Linked DNA regions of Homo sapiens: region 2 is linked to region 1. The links are contacts of gene promoters, found by promoter capture Hi-C in human tissues and cell types (Jung and others, 2019). All regions are on one chromosome and are shown on one strand. Each heading gives the region's core, a stretch centred on a gene start or on the middle of the fragment in contact. The rest is flanking DNA. Distances are from core to core; before and after follow the strand shown. Region 1 holds the start of PLEKHH1 (pleckstrin homology, MyTH4 and FERM domain containing H1). Region 2 has its middle 24 kb from the start of ZFP36L1.

What was found. The method cuts DNA at HindIII sites, captures the fragments that hold promoters and counts their contacts. A contact is called where the count stands out against the background at its distance.
Region 2: a fragment that was not itself captured here is called in contact with the fragment with the promoter of PLEKHH1 in region 1 in 1 of the 25 tissues and cell types used here (hippocampus).

Annotation. Positions count from the first base shown.
Region 1 is chr14:67,528,714-67,535,327 of GRCh38, reverse strand. PLEKHH1 (pleckstrin homology, MyTH4 and FERM domain containing H1) reads right to left here and starts at 2,038. Exons shown (of 29, transcript NM_020715.3): 1 at 1,930-2,038. It also overlaps a transcript of GPHN not described here and a transcript of TMEM229B not described here. RefSeq lists a silencer at 1,945-2,414. The HindIII fragment of the contact is 40,466 bases long and covers 1-6,614 here.
Region 2 is chr14:68,813,386-68,820,652 of GRCh38, reverse strand. No RefSeq gene overlaps it. Among named protein-coding and RNA genes, the nearest start is that of ZFP36L1, 24 kb to the right of the region's middle. RefSeq lists enhancers at 3,546-3,595, 3,696-3,745, 3,620-4,359, 4,686-4,905, 5,511-5,630 and 1 more and a silencer at 3,846-4,235. The HindIII fragment of the contact is 6,181 bases long and covers 2,900-7,267 here.

The DNA.
Region 1 (6,614 bases), core at 789-3,288:
GGTCATATGATTTTTAAAGTTATTTTAGAACATTGAACAAAAGGGTATATAGTGCAAAGTAAGGCTTCTTCCCATGCCTGTACTTCAGCCATAGTTCTCCCCAGCGGCAACCACTGTTACAGGTTTCTGTGTGTTCTCTCAGAGATATTCAGAGCATCTACAGGCATTCATATGTATGTGGCATTCACACACCCACCCAAAAATCGTGGCCCACCATACACACTGTACTCAACAATATAACTTAGAGATATTCCTACATCAAAGTATATATCTGCCACATTTTCTCTGCACGCTTTATAACAGCTTTAATGTATCCTATCGTGTGGCTTTTACATGATCTTATTGAAGGGTTCCTTATTGATGGACATCTAGATTGTTTCCAACCTTTTGCTAAACAATGCTGCAATGAATATTCAATGATGTACACCATTTCATATACATCAGAGTATATCTGAAGGATAAAGTCCCAGAAAATGGAATTTAGGGGTAAATGATGTACACTTTAAATTGCCAGACATTTCTTTGGATTTTTTTTTTTCTATCAGGAATGGGAGGAACATGCTCTCCCCTACAGCTGGTGACTTCTGAAGAGGGCAGAAGAGGCTCCACATTTTTTCAGCTTAGTTGTTAGTTTCAATGAGTTTGGGGCCACAGGCTGCACCCCACAATTGCCCAACTCTGAGCAGGCCCCCTCAGCAGTCTATGGGAAGGTGGTAGAAGTGGACTGAACCATACGTTAGGAATTTAGGAGGCTTGGGTTTCAGTTATGGCTCTTCCACTTTTTAGCTATGTGACCATGGGCATATCACAACAATTTTTTTTTTAACAGACAGGATCATCAGCCTCCCAAGTTAGCTGGGACTACAGGCCCACACCACCACACCCAGCTAATTTTTAAATTTTTATTTATTTGTAGACACAGGGTCTCCCTATGTTGCCCAGGCTGGTCTTGAACTCCTGGCATCAAGCTCTCCTCCTGCCTTGGCTTCCCAAAGTGCTGGGATTACAGGCATAAGCCACTGCAACTGGCCTAAATCACAACTTTTCAGAGTCCCAGCTTCCTCCTTTGGAAAAATGGGGCCAATAATATGCAGAAACACTAATACCGATGTTCTATAAAGCGTTCAGTGATGGTACTAGCCCTATACACAGTGTCTGTCACATAGAAGACAGTCCAAACAGTTTGATGAAGGAACTGATAATTCTCCCACTGAATTTTTTAAATGGTCTTTCAAGTGTTTTACCTGAACCAAGGCTCTGTCTTGGAAGAGTTTTATGAGGTGGATTCATAGTAAAAGCTATGGAGGAGATATCCTGGCAAGCAGAAATCCCACAAGGAGAGGAGTTTCCTTCCAGATGAGGCTCTTCACCGCCTCTGCCACCCCCACTAAGGCCCCTGGTTCCTGGTGACCGAGTCCTCGCTAAGACTCCTAGGACACAATGCTCTGTGTCATTCGGCGCCCAACCTGTTTTCTTTTCTGCTTGAATGACCTGCTCCTAGGAGTCGAGCCTGAGCCATAGGGTCCCAAAGACAACACTCAGAAATCACAGAAGAAATAACCTGAGGTGAGATGGGGAGGGGTGCGGGAAGGGGTGAAAGGGAGCGAGCACCGATAGCAAGGTGGCAGCCTGCACGTCCGCTCCGAGGGCCCTTCCCAGGAGCGGCTGGATCTGACCGATCCCCAAGTCCAGGTACTCCCGGGGGAGGCTCCTCCTGGCCTCGCGGCGCGAGTCCCCTGGGGCGCCCGGCTTCCCAAGCCAGACCCGCGCTCCAGCGCTCCCCGCCGCTGGGAGCTCGCTTCCAGGTAGGGAGGCACCTGCTCCGGATCGTCCTCTGGGCCCGAGGGGCCGTCCCCCGCGCGCAGCCTGACGCCCTCCGCCGCGGCGCAGCCCCAGCCCACCACAGCGGCGGGAGCGCGGGTCGCTCACCTCCAGCGAGCTCGCGGCCGTCCCCGCCGCGCACTGGGCACACGGGCGCCCTCGGGCCGCCGCCGCAGCCGACCTTGCGTCGCTCTCGCCGGAGTCCCGGGCTGCCGCCGGTTCTCCCCTCCCCGGCAGCAGGGGTCGTGGGCTGCGGGGCGGGGCGAGGCTGGAGCGGGAGGGGTGCCCGCGGGCTCGCTGCACAAAGCCCGGCCGAGCCTTGCTGCGCCCCATTCAACGCTCCGCCGGGCGCCCTCCTCCCCTCGGCTCCCCGCCCGCTCCTTAAAGGCAGAGCGCTGGGCTCAGCTCTCCAGGCAGCTCGCGGAGAGGCACAGGAAATGACCTCAGCAGGCTCCAGCCTCCCACTTCTCCGCACCGCTGGGCTCGTCCCTGGGGCGGCAGGGAGGGCGGCGGGGTGTCCCGGGCGCCGGCCCGGAGCTCTCCGAGGAGGCCGCACCAGCTGCCGCAAGGGGTGGCCAGAGCGCCCCGGGGATCTGCTTGACCCCAAATAGCGGGGGACCCTCGCGGGCTGCGGGACAAGACCAGACCGTCTCCGCCAAAGGTTCCAGCATTCTCCTGGCCACCTGTGGGAACTGTAACGTCTGGATATTTGGAACAGAAGTCCATATTTCAGTCTGGCAGACCAAATGTTCTGAGTTGCAATTTGCAGGAGAAAAAGAAAAAATAAGTTACGACAGCCCAGAGAGTAACTTACTTGCTTATTTTCTGGTCTCGCTATGTTGCCCAGGCTGGACTCGAACTCCGGAGCTCAAGTGATCTTCCCGCCTGGGCCTCCAGGCCGGCTTATGTATATGTTATTTTAAAGGAGGGCCCAGGAGGACCCTGGCTGCCAGGCAGTTTGCAGGGCAGTCATCAGCGTGCCCATGTGCTCCTCGTTCTCAGACATTTGCAGATCTCAGATCGCCCAAAGCAATCTCATACCCAGAGGGGTTGGAAAACTCAACATTTGGCTAGGTGAGCCTGGAGTAAAGAAGATGCAAATAGAGACCATTGCAGGGAGGGATCCACACTTCAAAACAGAGCCTTCTTCCTCAACCCTGCAGGCTCTCTGTCAGTGAAGGACTGAACAGAAGCAAAATACCATCAGCGCCTGTTTCTCCAAATGGTCCTTGGAAGACTCATCCCAGGCACCATGAAGAACACCCCCACCCTGGGTTTGAATCTGAATCTCTAACTAAAGTACCCCAGGCCATTCTCACGTAGAAGTTTTGAGAGCCCAGACACTAAGGAAAGCTGGTAGTGCAGGAGGCCAAACGTGAGAATTTAACTGGGCCAATGGGACTTCAATGGCTGAACTTGCAAACAGCTTTATAGCTCGTGGGGATTGGGATAGATTAGCCCCATTTTGTGGGACAATGCTCAGGCTATCCACTTCAACATTCCAGAAGTTGCATAAGGAAGCCCAAAAACACGTTCTCTGGATTTTGCTAAGAAGACATTAATTCATTCATTCACTTTTTTTTTTTTTTTTTTTTTGGACATAGGTTCTTCTTGTTCTGTTCTCCAGGCTGGATTGCAGTGGCACAATCATAGCTCACTGTAACTTGAACTCCTGGGCTCAAGCAATCCTCCCATCTCAGCCTCATGAACAGCTGGGACTATAGGCACATGCTACTATACCCAGCAAAAAAAAAAAAAAAAATTTTTTTTTTTTTTTAGTAGAGGTGGGGTCTCAAACTCCTGGACTCAAGAAATCCTCCTGCCTCGGCCTCCCAAAGTGCTGGGATTACAGGGATGAGCCACCGCACCTCGGCCCAGAACTCATTTAATATAACTTTGTTATATAGTGAAAAGAGACGCACCATGGAGAGTGGAATGGGAGGAGCATGCTCTCCCCTATAGCTGGTTACTTCTGTAGAGGGCAGAAGAGACTCCACATTTTTTTCAGCTCAGTTGTTACTTTCAATGAGTTTGGGGCCATAGAGTGCATCTCACCATTGCCCAACTCTGAGCAGGACCCCTTGGCAGTCTGTGGGAGGGTGGTAGAGGTGGACTGAACCCTACATTAGGAATTTAGGAGGCTTGAGTTTCAGTTATGTCTCTTCCACTTTTTAGCTATGTGACTTGGGCAAGTTACAACTTTTGTTGTTGTTGTTGTTTTCTTTTAAGAGATAAGATCTTGCTCTGTTGCCTAAGCTAGAATGCAGTGGCAATCATAGCTCATTGCAGCCCAGAACTCCTAGGCTCAAGCAGTCCTTCTGCCTCAGCCTCCCAGGTAGCTGGGACTATAATACCCACCATCACCCCTAGAGCCCCTTTCTTTGGATATTAGCTTATTATTACAAGTGACCTGACAAAGGAGAATGGAGGATGGAACAGAGAGATGGGAAGAAAAGCCATCATGTGCCTGAGTTGAAGGATATGCTAGGGCATTCTTGTGAAAGAAGATGAGGCCGGGATGGGGACTTGTCAACTGGTCTGAGCCAATTTAGTCCTTCAATGATTGTATTAGCTGCCATGGGACGTGAGAGGTGAGAGGAGGCCATTCGTCTTCTTTTCTGTAATCTCCTGCAGGTGGGATATTAAAAATAGTTAAGGCCAAATTCTGCCAAATATACATGTATTGGCAAGCTGGCACAAAACAGTCACACAGCCTGCTTCAAGAAAATGGGGCAGTTGGCCTGCTCTGGCTCTCACACTCCATTCATGCAAGGGCAAATAATCTTCCTGGCCAACTCCATGTTTTGAAAACTGCTTATTTCACCAATAAAAGATTATTTCTAGCATCCCTCAAGCACATTAAGCCCTTGGGTGTATATTTTGATGTTGTTTGAAGTGCTTATGTAACCATTTTCTGGAGTGCGGATTCCTGATTAGGGCACTTCAGATGCTAACTAACCACTCTAGGAGTTACAGGAGAGTCACTTTATATACACACACTACATGGTTTAGGCTGGAATGTTTAAAAAATAAATTCCTACAGAGTCAATATTACAGCATCTTAGTCTGGGCCTTGTTCCTTGGACAGCACTATGGGAGGGAAAGGGGAACTTGGAACTGGCCAGAGCTCAGTTTAAGCTTTATCACTTAAGTGGTGGTGGGACCTTGGGGCAGTTGCTTAAGGTTTCTGAATTAATTCCATGTTTGTAAAATAATGATGATAATAATTCTGGCCTCTTAGGGTTGTTGAAATGATTAAATGAGATAGTATGTTGTCTGGCATGCAGCAAGTGATCTATAAATGGAAGCTTTTGTTATTTATTCTTTGAACAAATATTGGCTGGAGTTTACGAGAGATCTTGTAAATCTCTGTTTACAAGATTGCAATGGATAAGCAGATGGCTTGAGAGACAGGAATAACTCTAGGAGAGCTGGTGAAATGGTTGACAATTCATCTTCCCTTGTACGAGCCTTCTAGAAACCCTGCTTCCCATCCCTACCTGCTTTCTCTGAGCTCCAAAGAGACCCTCTCCTATATCACCAAAAAAGCCTCAAATCAAGGGATCCCCTCCTCCTGCCTTCAGGACCTGGTTCTCAGTTACTGTTGGAAGGGGAAGAGAGGGGAGAAGAAGGAGAAGGGAGTTTCAGACTCCCAGGAAACTTGGGGCCAGTCCTAGTCCAGGCTTCTGCTCTCTGCCTTGGGTCACAAAGAAGTCAGGAGGTTACTTCTACTGCTGAATCTTTGGGAGCAATTTGGCTCTTCGGTGATTGTCAGGATTAGCCACCATGGGACATGAGAGGTGAGGTAACCATGGGTTAGAGCAGAGTGTCAAGAGTCACCATCTAAGTGGGGCTAGGAAGGCAGTGATTGGACATGCAGAGAAGGGCCAGTTAGGAAGGAAAGGAAATGGCCCAGTGGCTAAATCCTCAGTGTGTGTGTGAGCGTGTATATGTGTGCATGTGAGATGGGTATGGAAAGATGGGAGGAAGTGTCCTAACTTTAAGTATGGACTCTTCTTTCATTTATTCATTCAGTTACTCACTAACAAATATCTATTGAATACTTGCTATTTTCCAGCCACTGTGCTAGGAAGGAAAGTGTGGCAAGTGTGACCTATCAACTCTGGGCACAGGCTTTAGAACTAGACATGCCTGTCCTTGAATCCTGGCTCTTCCACCCAGGGGACACAGGGTGGAAGTAATGCAGTTACCACATACATTCACTGCAAATAATCTGTTCAGTATACCTGTGGGTATGGGAGCCAGAGAGAGCCAGGCAGCGGATGGGGAGGGGAGGGAAGGTGTTCCTCGTTTGTAAATCAGGAATCAGAATTCCTTCCTTAGAGAGTTATTATAAAGATGGAGATAAAGGGCCTGCCTCAGTGCCTGGCATATTATTGGAATCTAGTAAATATTATGAAATGAGGAGGGAACTTGAAGGTGTAGAGGTGTAAAGGACTAGCAAGGCGCCCAAAGACTAGGGAGCTGGAAAGTACCCAGGAGGAGCAGCATGGAAGGAGGGCCTGGTGGAGAAGGATTCCAATGAGGAGGTGGGCAGTGATTCCAAATCTAACCTCATGTCTTAAAATGCTGATCTGAAAATACAGATTCCAGGCCACCTCTAGCTATTCAGATCAGTGGGCCCAGGAGTCTGCATTGTCACGCACCTGTCTGGGGTCTGTATTGACTGGTATGCCCTTGAGTGATTTTTCTCAGAGAGCAACTGCCAGGGCGGAACTGATGTAATTACAACACATATCAATGCAAAATGCTCTGTCCGCTGCAGCTGCGGG
Region 2 (7,267 bases), core at 4,741-7,240, 1.3 Mb before region 1:
ATGTTTTGGAACTAGACAGAGGCGGAGGTTCCACAACCCTGTAAATATACTAAATTCCACTGAAGTGTTCACTTTAAAATGCTTCATTTTATGTTATGTGAACCTTACCTTGATAAAAAACACAGGGGTGCTACTGACTTCACCAGCTGGTTTGGAGGCTTCAAAGAGAAGATGGCCGTGTAGCCTGAGCTCAGCCAGTGACACTGGTGAATGTCAAAGAATGGAAGCCATCGTGACCCTGGGGGCTGTGTCAGTTCCCTTGCCTTGCTGGACTCCAGACTGCGGGAGTCAGGGGCAGGAGCCAAGGGGGAGGTGAGGGCAGGTGGCTTCGCTGGGCACACCCCTTAGTCAGGGGCAGAGGGAGCTGCTGCGGCTGCTTCAGCAGCTGTGGGTGAACATTCCTATGCTGCAGGCCCAGGCTCCCGCCTCTGATTTGCTGCGCACTTTGGGTTGGCCCTTCAACCCTGGTTCGTTTCTTAATCTGCCCATATCTGCCTGGGTACCTGCTCTTCTGCCGCTGTATTGGACACCTGACCCCATCCTCATACCCGATTCCCACAGCGCAGGTCACTGCCAGGCAGTGTATTACCGATCTCTTGGTTCTGGGGTCTGTGGTCTATCTTCCCTACAGAATCAAGGGAAAATGGATCTGTTTTGTTCATGACTGTATTTCTAACACCCAGTGCCTGGCACATAGCAGGTACTCAATAAATATCTGTTAAATGAACAAATGTACAAATCCTCATTCTTTACGTAGTGGGTGCCAGGTCCTGTCTGTACTAAGTGCTGTCAGTAAATAGCTGTGAGGTCAATGTTATCATTATCTCCGTTTTACAGAGGAGGAAGCTGAGGCTCTGGGACATGGAATGGCCATAGCAGAGCTGGGATTCTGACCTGGCAGCCCAGCAGCAAAGCCCTCGCTCTGACCCACCCAGTTCTAAGCTGTCTTCTGACCTGGAGCTCCCACTCTGGGAGGCAGCTTGGGCCCTGAAGCATTCACTCTGCCTCCTCAGCCACCGGGCCCCGCCCACTCCCAGGGAGGGGCTCCCTCTGAAGCCGCACACCCACCACCCCGAGCCCTTTCTCAGGCTCACTGCCACCCCAGCCGGCTCCCTTCCCTGGGAACCTCCGTCATAAAGAAGGCGAGGCCCTGATCTGGCCTGTCTCTCCGCCCTGGGGCCTTCCTCACCTCAGGGAACCTTAGTTATACATATGGGAGTTACGCCTTGAGCTTGTATTAAGCACCTTTCATCTGGAGAGCTCCTGGCTGCTGGGAGGCTAATTAGCTGCTCTCTGGAAAGAGTGAGTAAGAGCTGACGTCCTAGCCAGGGAACTGCCTAGCTAGGCATGGGGCTGGCCCTCCTGGGAGAGGTGTGTGAGCCATCATCTTGGGTCACCCACTTCTCCATATTTCTCCTTCTGTAGGACCTCCTCACAGAGTCCCTTCTCTCTGGCTAATGATGAAGCCCACCGTTTATTGAGTGCTTATTATGTGCCAAGAGCTTGCTAAGCCCCTTCGCCTGTTAAATATGTGTGCAGAGCAGTAGGGCCGTAGGACTACATAAATATATGTGTGCAGAGCAGTAGGGCCGTAGGACTACATAAATATATGTGTGCAGAGCAGTAGGGCCGTAGGACTACATAAATATATGTGTGCAGAGCAGTAGGGCCGTAGGACTACATAAATATATGTGTGCAGAGCAGTAGGGCCGTAGGACTACATAAATATATGTGTGCAGAGCAGTAGGGGTGTCATGCGTTAACAACTGTGATGGAGCCCTACTCCTTGCTGGCATGGGACCAGTACTTCTGCACATGACCTCATGGAGTGGATGGGAAGCCTCTAGTGTGCTGCCTGGCACGGATCAAGCACTTGCTAAGTGGTAGCTATTATCAGTAATCTTCAGAACAGCCCAGTGAGGTAGGTACCATGCTATTCCCATTTCTCAGATGAGGAAACAGGCTCAGAGAAGTTAAACCACTTACTGGCTATCACAGAGTCAGGAATAGAGTTGGATTGATTTGATTGATTCTAAAGCTGCACATAGTTTTTCAGCTGCTCCCCGCTCCCTTCCCCTAACCTGGAGTCTGTTAACGACAAAGGCCTTGCTTTGCATAATGCTAGGGTCATGGGGTCATTGGGCAGGGCTGTTCTCGTCCATCTCTCCAACAGTGCACTGGTGGGCTAGGCATGGATCAGAAACCCTTGGAGATCATCTAACACAACTCATCCGCACCCCACATTTTTCAGATGTGAAAACGGGACAGAAGGGACTGAGCAAGGTAACAGGATTAATGGGATGATACCTCCTTGTCAGCACAAGGGATAAAGTGGCAGTGGTTGGTGGTCATCCTGGCCCCTGCCATCAAGCTGGCATTGATACAAAGTAAGAATCATTAGAACACTAGAATTCCTGGCTGCCATTTGTCAGCCTGGCCCACCTGCAATGAGTGACCCCAGGGATGTTTGGGTGGGGTGGGGGTGCACACAGCAGGCTGGAGCTGAGACTGGGGCGGGGAGGGTGTACTCCACCTACCTGCCCTCCAGGGTGCTTGGCGCCTCCTAGGGCAGGCTGGCCTCTTTGTGCCATGCCCCACAGAGCATTGCAGTGATCCTAGTGCAGAGCACATAGTAGGTGCTTAAAAATGCTCATTGGAGAAACAGCTGGATCCTGGACTGCAGGAGGGAGGAGATGGCACACTGAGGGCATTGATGGGTAGATGGTAACATCATGTCTGTTCATCATTACTCAGCAGACCTGGTTCCATCAGATGTGACTGCCCTTCAGGCCTTACAGAAGGTACCTACATAAATCTGCTCAGGCAAAGAGAAGTTTGTGGGCTGTGGGCACCTGGCTGGGGTTCCTCAAGGTGGAGCATTCTTCTTGGCACTGACGGGGGTAGCTAAGATCTGAGCATGCAGGCAGGCCCTCTTCTCCCCTGGATGCTGCCCTTCTGAGGAGGCAGCTCTGTGGGTACCAGAGGCATGGGCCTAGGAGGCTGTGACCCCCTGCCTGGCCCCCTACCAGTCTCTGCTTCTACAGACAGGGTCTGCATCTTACCTGCTCCTCCTGCCAGTTCCAGTCCCCTCCCCATTCCCCTCAGGACCTCATCCCTCCTCCTGGCCTCAGCTTAAGGGTTTCCTCAGAGAGGTCTTCCTCAAGAACCTTCCCATCCCAAATCTAAATGAGTGCCCCATTTATATATGTTCTCTGAGCACCTGATTCTTTTCCTTCATAGGAATTTGAAAGTCTTTTCAAATGGAATCTTATATTTCTTTCTAGGTGATTTGTTGAAACAAGTCTGTCTCCTCCGTTAGACTAAGCTCCGCGAGGGGTGAGAAAGTTGTTCCGTCCACTCGTCCTCCGGGGCTAGCAGGACATATTCTGTATTAAATGAGTAGATGACAGAAACCCCGTGAGAGAAAGAGTGAGCCGAGCCAGTGGTTCTCTAAGTGTGGCTCCAGGACCAGCGGACCAGCAGCTCAGCATCGCCTGAGGATTTGTTAGAAATGCAAATTCTCTGACTTGGTTGGGGGACCCAGCAATCCGGGTTTGAAAGAACTGTCCAAGGGGGGATTCCTGTGCACACTGAAGTTTGAGAACCACCGAAGGCGGCAAATCCCCTGCTGTTGGGTGAGTGTGCACTGTGGCAGCTTTGGTGACCTGTAAGAGGAACCATGGATGAGCAAACCCCACCTTCAAATGTAGCAAAGGGCAGAGAGAGGGTGGACACGTCACCCAGACCCCCAAAAGGGGCCCAGACGTGTTGTTCGGCGAGCTGGCCACTGGAGGGCAGTGTGGCCACGTCCATCGTGCTGCCTCCGAGGGCTTCCGGGGGAGAGCGGCCGCGGGAGGACGGGAACGAAGCCGTAGCGAGAACCTCGCCCCACGCCGCAGCCTCCTGCAGCAGCGTCGGCTCGCCGGCCCCTTGCGTTCCGAGCCGCCCAGGGAGCTCAGCCGCCGCAGCCCCGGCCCCTGTGTCTCCCCTCGCGGGCCGGGCCTGGTGTGCACGTCTGGATGGCCTCGGGCCTGGAAGGTTTGCGAGGCCCCGGGAGCCGCAGACCGCGCCGGGGAGGAGATCCCGGCAGGCCGGCCGGGGCAGAGCGCCAAGGAGGGCGGCGGAACCTTGGCTGTTTCCCGGGAGGCCAAGGGCAGCCTTCCCGCGTGATCCGCGCGCTGCCGAGCGCGTCGGCCATCTTGGCGGCCTCGCCCGGGCCCCGCGCCCGGCCCGGCTTGGTTCTCGCTCGCGGCTGAGCAGACGCCGGGGTGGCGACGGGAGAGCCCGACCGCGAAGCTCGGCCGCAGGAGTGCGTGGGCGTCGCAGAAGCCCAGGAGAGCCCTGGACCTTGGTAGCTTCCCGGGGGTGCTGGGAAACGCCACCCCAGTAGCCGCCAGGAAGGCAGGCCTGAGCCTCCGAGCCTCAAGTGAATTGGATGGTGCCAGTCGCCCTTCTTCTTTTTGCCCCATATTCAAAGAGCGGGAAGTCAGAGGGCGTTAAAGTAGGTCACAGCGGTCAGCAGGTTTTTGTGGGGCAGGCAAGTGGCAGGGTCCAAGGCCAGGCGTAGTATCTGGTTGCCTAAGATGCTTGGGCAACTCCTTCACCGGGCACACCAATCTCCGAGCCAGAGGTCAGGGACTGGCCCCGCGGAGCTGGCTGCAGGCGGCCGATGCATTCCAGTCCCTGACCACCATGGGGACTTGAGGTGCCATTCTGAGGAGCCCCAGGCCCCACCACGCCTGTTGCCTCTGTCTAGAGTAGTTCACACATGGATGCTGTCTCTCTGGTACTTGGGTGTTTCTCAGGTTCCAGAACATCCGTTCATCTTACCAGTCCTTCAAGGTTCAGCTTAAAGATCAGCTCCACCAGGAAGCCTTCCTGGATTTCCCCTCTTAGTTTCCAACAGAATCCGTCTCTTCCGTTCTCTGCCCACCTTGAGTAGCAGTAGCTTCAGCTGTAGACTCTCCTGTTTTTCCCTTACAGTCTTTGTTGCTGCATCCTCTTTCACTGAATTGTTGATGTGAGACCCTAGACTCTCTTGTTTTTTCGTTACAGTCTTTGTTGCTGCATCCTCTCTCACTGAATTGTTGAATTGTGAGACCCTGTGAGGGTCGGCACCCTGTGATACTGGCCAGGAAAGGGTTGTTGCAAGGGGATCATGGGATTGTTGAATGGGTTTTGATCTGGATTTTGATGTTGGAAATCAAGTTCCCAAATGTTTTCAACCTTGGGTAAAGGAACATGTAATGGTGTTTTTTAAGGCTGTCATGGAATCCTTTTGTGTGTTTAATTGCTTTGTTATTTTAGTAGAAATGTCAGGGTGTCAGAGGAACAAAAGCCATGGGTCTGAGCCCAAGCAAGAAGACAAACCACTGAGCCCGTGCTGGGTGCTTCCTCTGCGTGGCCTCAGGGTCAGGGCCTGTCAGATGGAATGGCAGGCTGCGGGTCCAGCCCCAAGGTCCAACCAAGGAAGCTCCTGGGGCCTTGGCCGAGCTTGAGGCTGTGATTTCAGACTCCTCGCTGGTCTAGGTCGGTATTTCAGAGGAGGCAAAAGAGAAAGTGCCTTCACAGCCTTGGAGAAGACTGGGAGCTAAAGGAGACATCCTTGCTTTTTCCTTTTAAAATAATAAGCCAAATGTTCTCCCATGAAGGACTCCAGAAAACCCCGTTCATGCCTCACCCACAGATGATTTGCTGAATGCTCATTAAGGGGAAAACAAAGAGGTGGTTTTGTTTATTTATTTAAAAGGAAAAATAAATGAGCTGTGACAAAACAATTTGAAACCAGGCCCCTCTGAGACCTGGGCTTTCACTTCCTTGATGGGAAGTAAAACAGAGAATCAAATCCCCCTCCAAATAAAAGTGAAGTTAATAATCAGACAGCTCGAGCCCTGGCCACATCCTGTCAGCCCCCTCCCTCCCTAGGCTCTCTGTTTATAGCTGCCGAGTGCTTTCCCTCCAGAGCCCAAGCCGGCTTAACCCTTTCCTCCCCATCCAGGGAAGCCCAACCCTGCTCTTGAGACTGGAGGTGGGTTCCTCACACCCACTGGTGCTGGCCTAACCTCAGCAAGCGGTGGCTCTCCCCAGGCCTGCCGGCATGGGCCTGTGTCCCCCACAGGGCAGCCAGCTTGGATTTGAGTGATATTCTCTGCTTGTCCTGCACAAAGCCTGAAAGTGTCACCTTTCCTCTCCATACCTCCAGGGGAAGACTAGGCCAACCCATTCCCATTCCAGACGCCATGCAGCTTCTATAGCCCGGTGGGCTCCAGAAAGCTGCATTCTGACAGAAAGAGGCACAAATCTTTGGGGTTTCTGGTCTGCACAGAGAGCAGCACTCTGTGCATGTCTCTGGGCTACTTTCTGTGAAAACTTTCCACTTCCTTCAAATGCCTTCCATTGTAGTAGCATGTTGATTTCTTCCAGAACCCCATGGGGTCAATAGTAGCACATCCCACTGGGCAGAGGAGGGCCCCTTGCTAAATTAATTTTGAGTTCTCTACTGTTCTAGGCAACGACTCTGCCCTATAGGGCCATAGTTATCCTCATTTTACAGAGGAGGAAACAGGGGTTAAGTACTTTGCCCAATGTTACAGAGCTAATACATAGCAGAGCTAGGATTTGAACCCAGGCATTCTGGCCCCGGCGTGCCCTTAGCCTTTGCACTCAAGGTTTAGCAGCCAGAGATTGCTCTCTTCTCTGGAGCCAGGGGGCTTTCAGAAGCTCAGGATAATCTTATGACTGCATTGTGAAGGTCTCAAAGCCCAAGGACCTTTCGAGAACATTCTTGAGTTTTGTCTTGGGCTCTCCAGCCTCCTTTCTTGTTTCCTCTTATGGGAGAAGAGGGAGCAGGTGGAGCCAGTGCAGGGCTCCATCCATTCTCCTCCAGAATCAGCAGGGTCAAGATGTGGCTGGATGTGAATCCTCCATCCCTTCATCTGGCTGGCAGACTTAGAGCAAGAACCCAAAGACTTGGTGTGGCCACTCTGACGGTGGTCTGGATGACCTTCTGCTTAGGTTCCCTTGTCTCCTCCAGTCTTGTCACCCAAAGTCCCAAATACCCGCTTCTGGCTGAAGCTTGTCAGCAGGAGGCCACCCACACAGTAGCCTGGAGCGTGAACTGGCTGTGCAGGCCACCTGCCTCTCCTGGGAGTCCTGCGTGCCATGGCTCCTTGATTTCTTCTTAGAACTGTATCTCTTGCCTGGCCACTTTTGCACAGCCATTTGGCAGGGCCTTTGCACCAGTGAAGGTACATTGTGGTGTATAGAG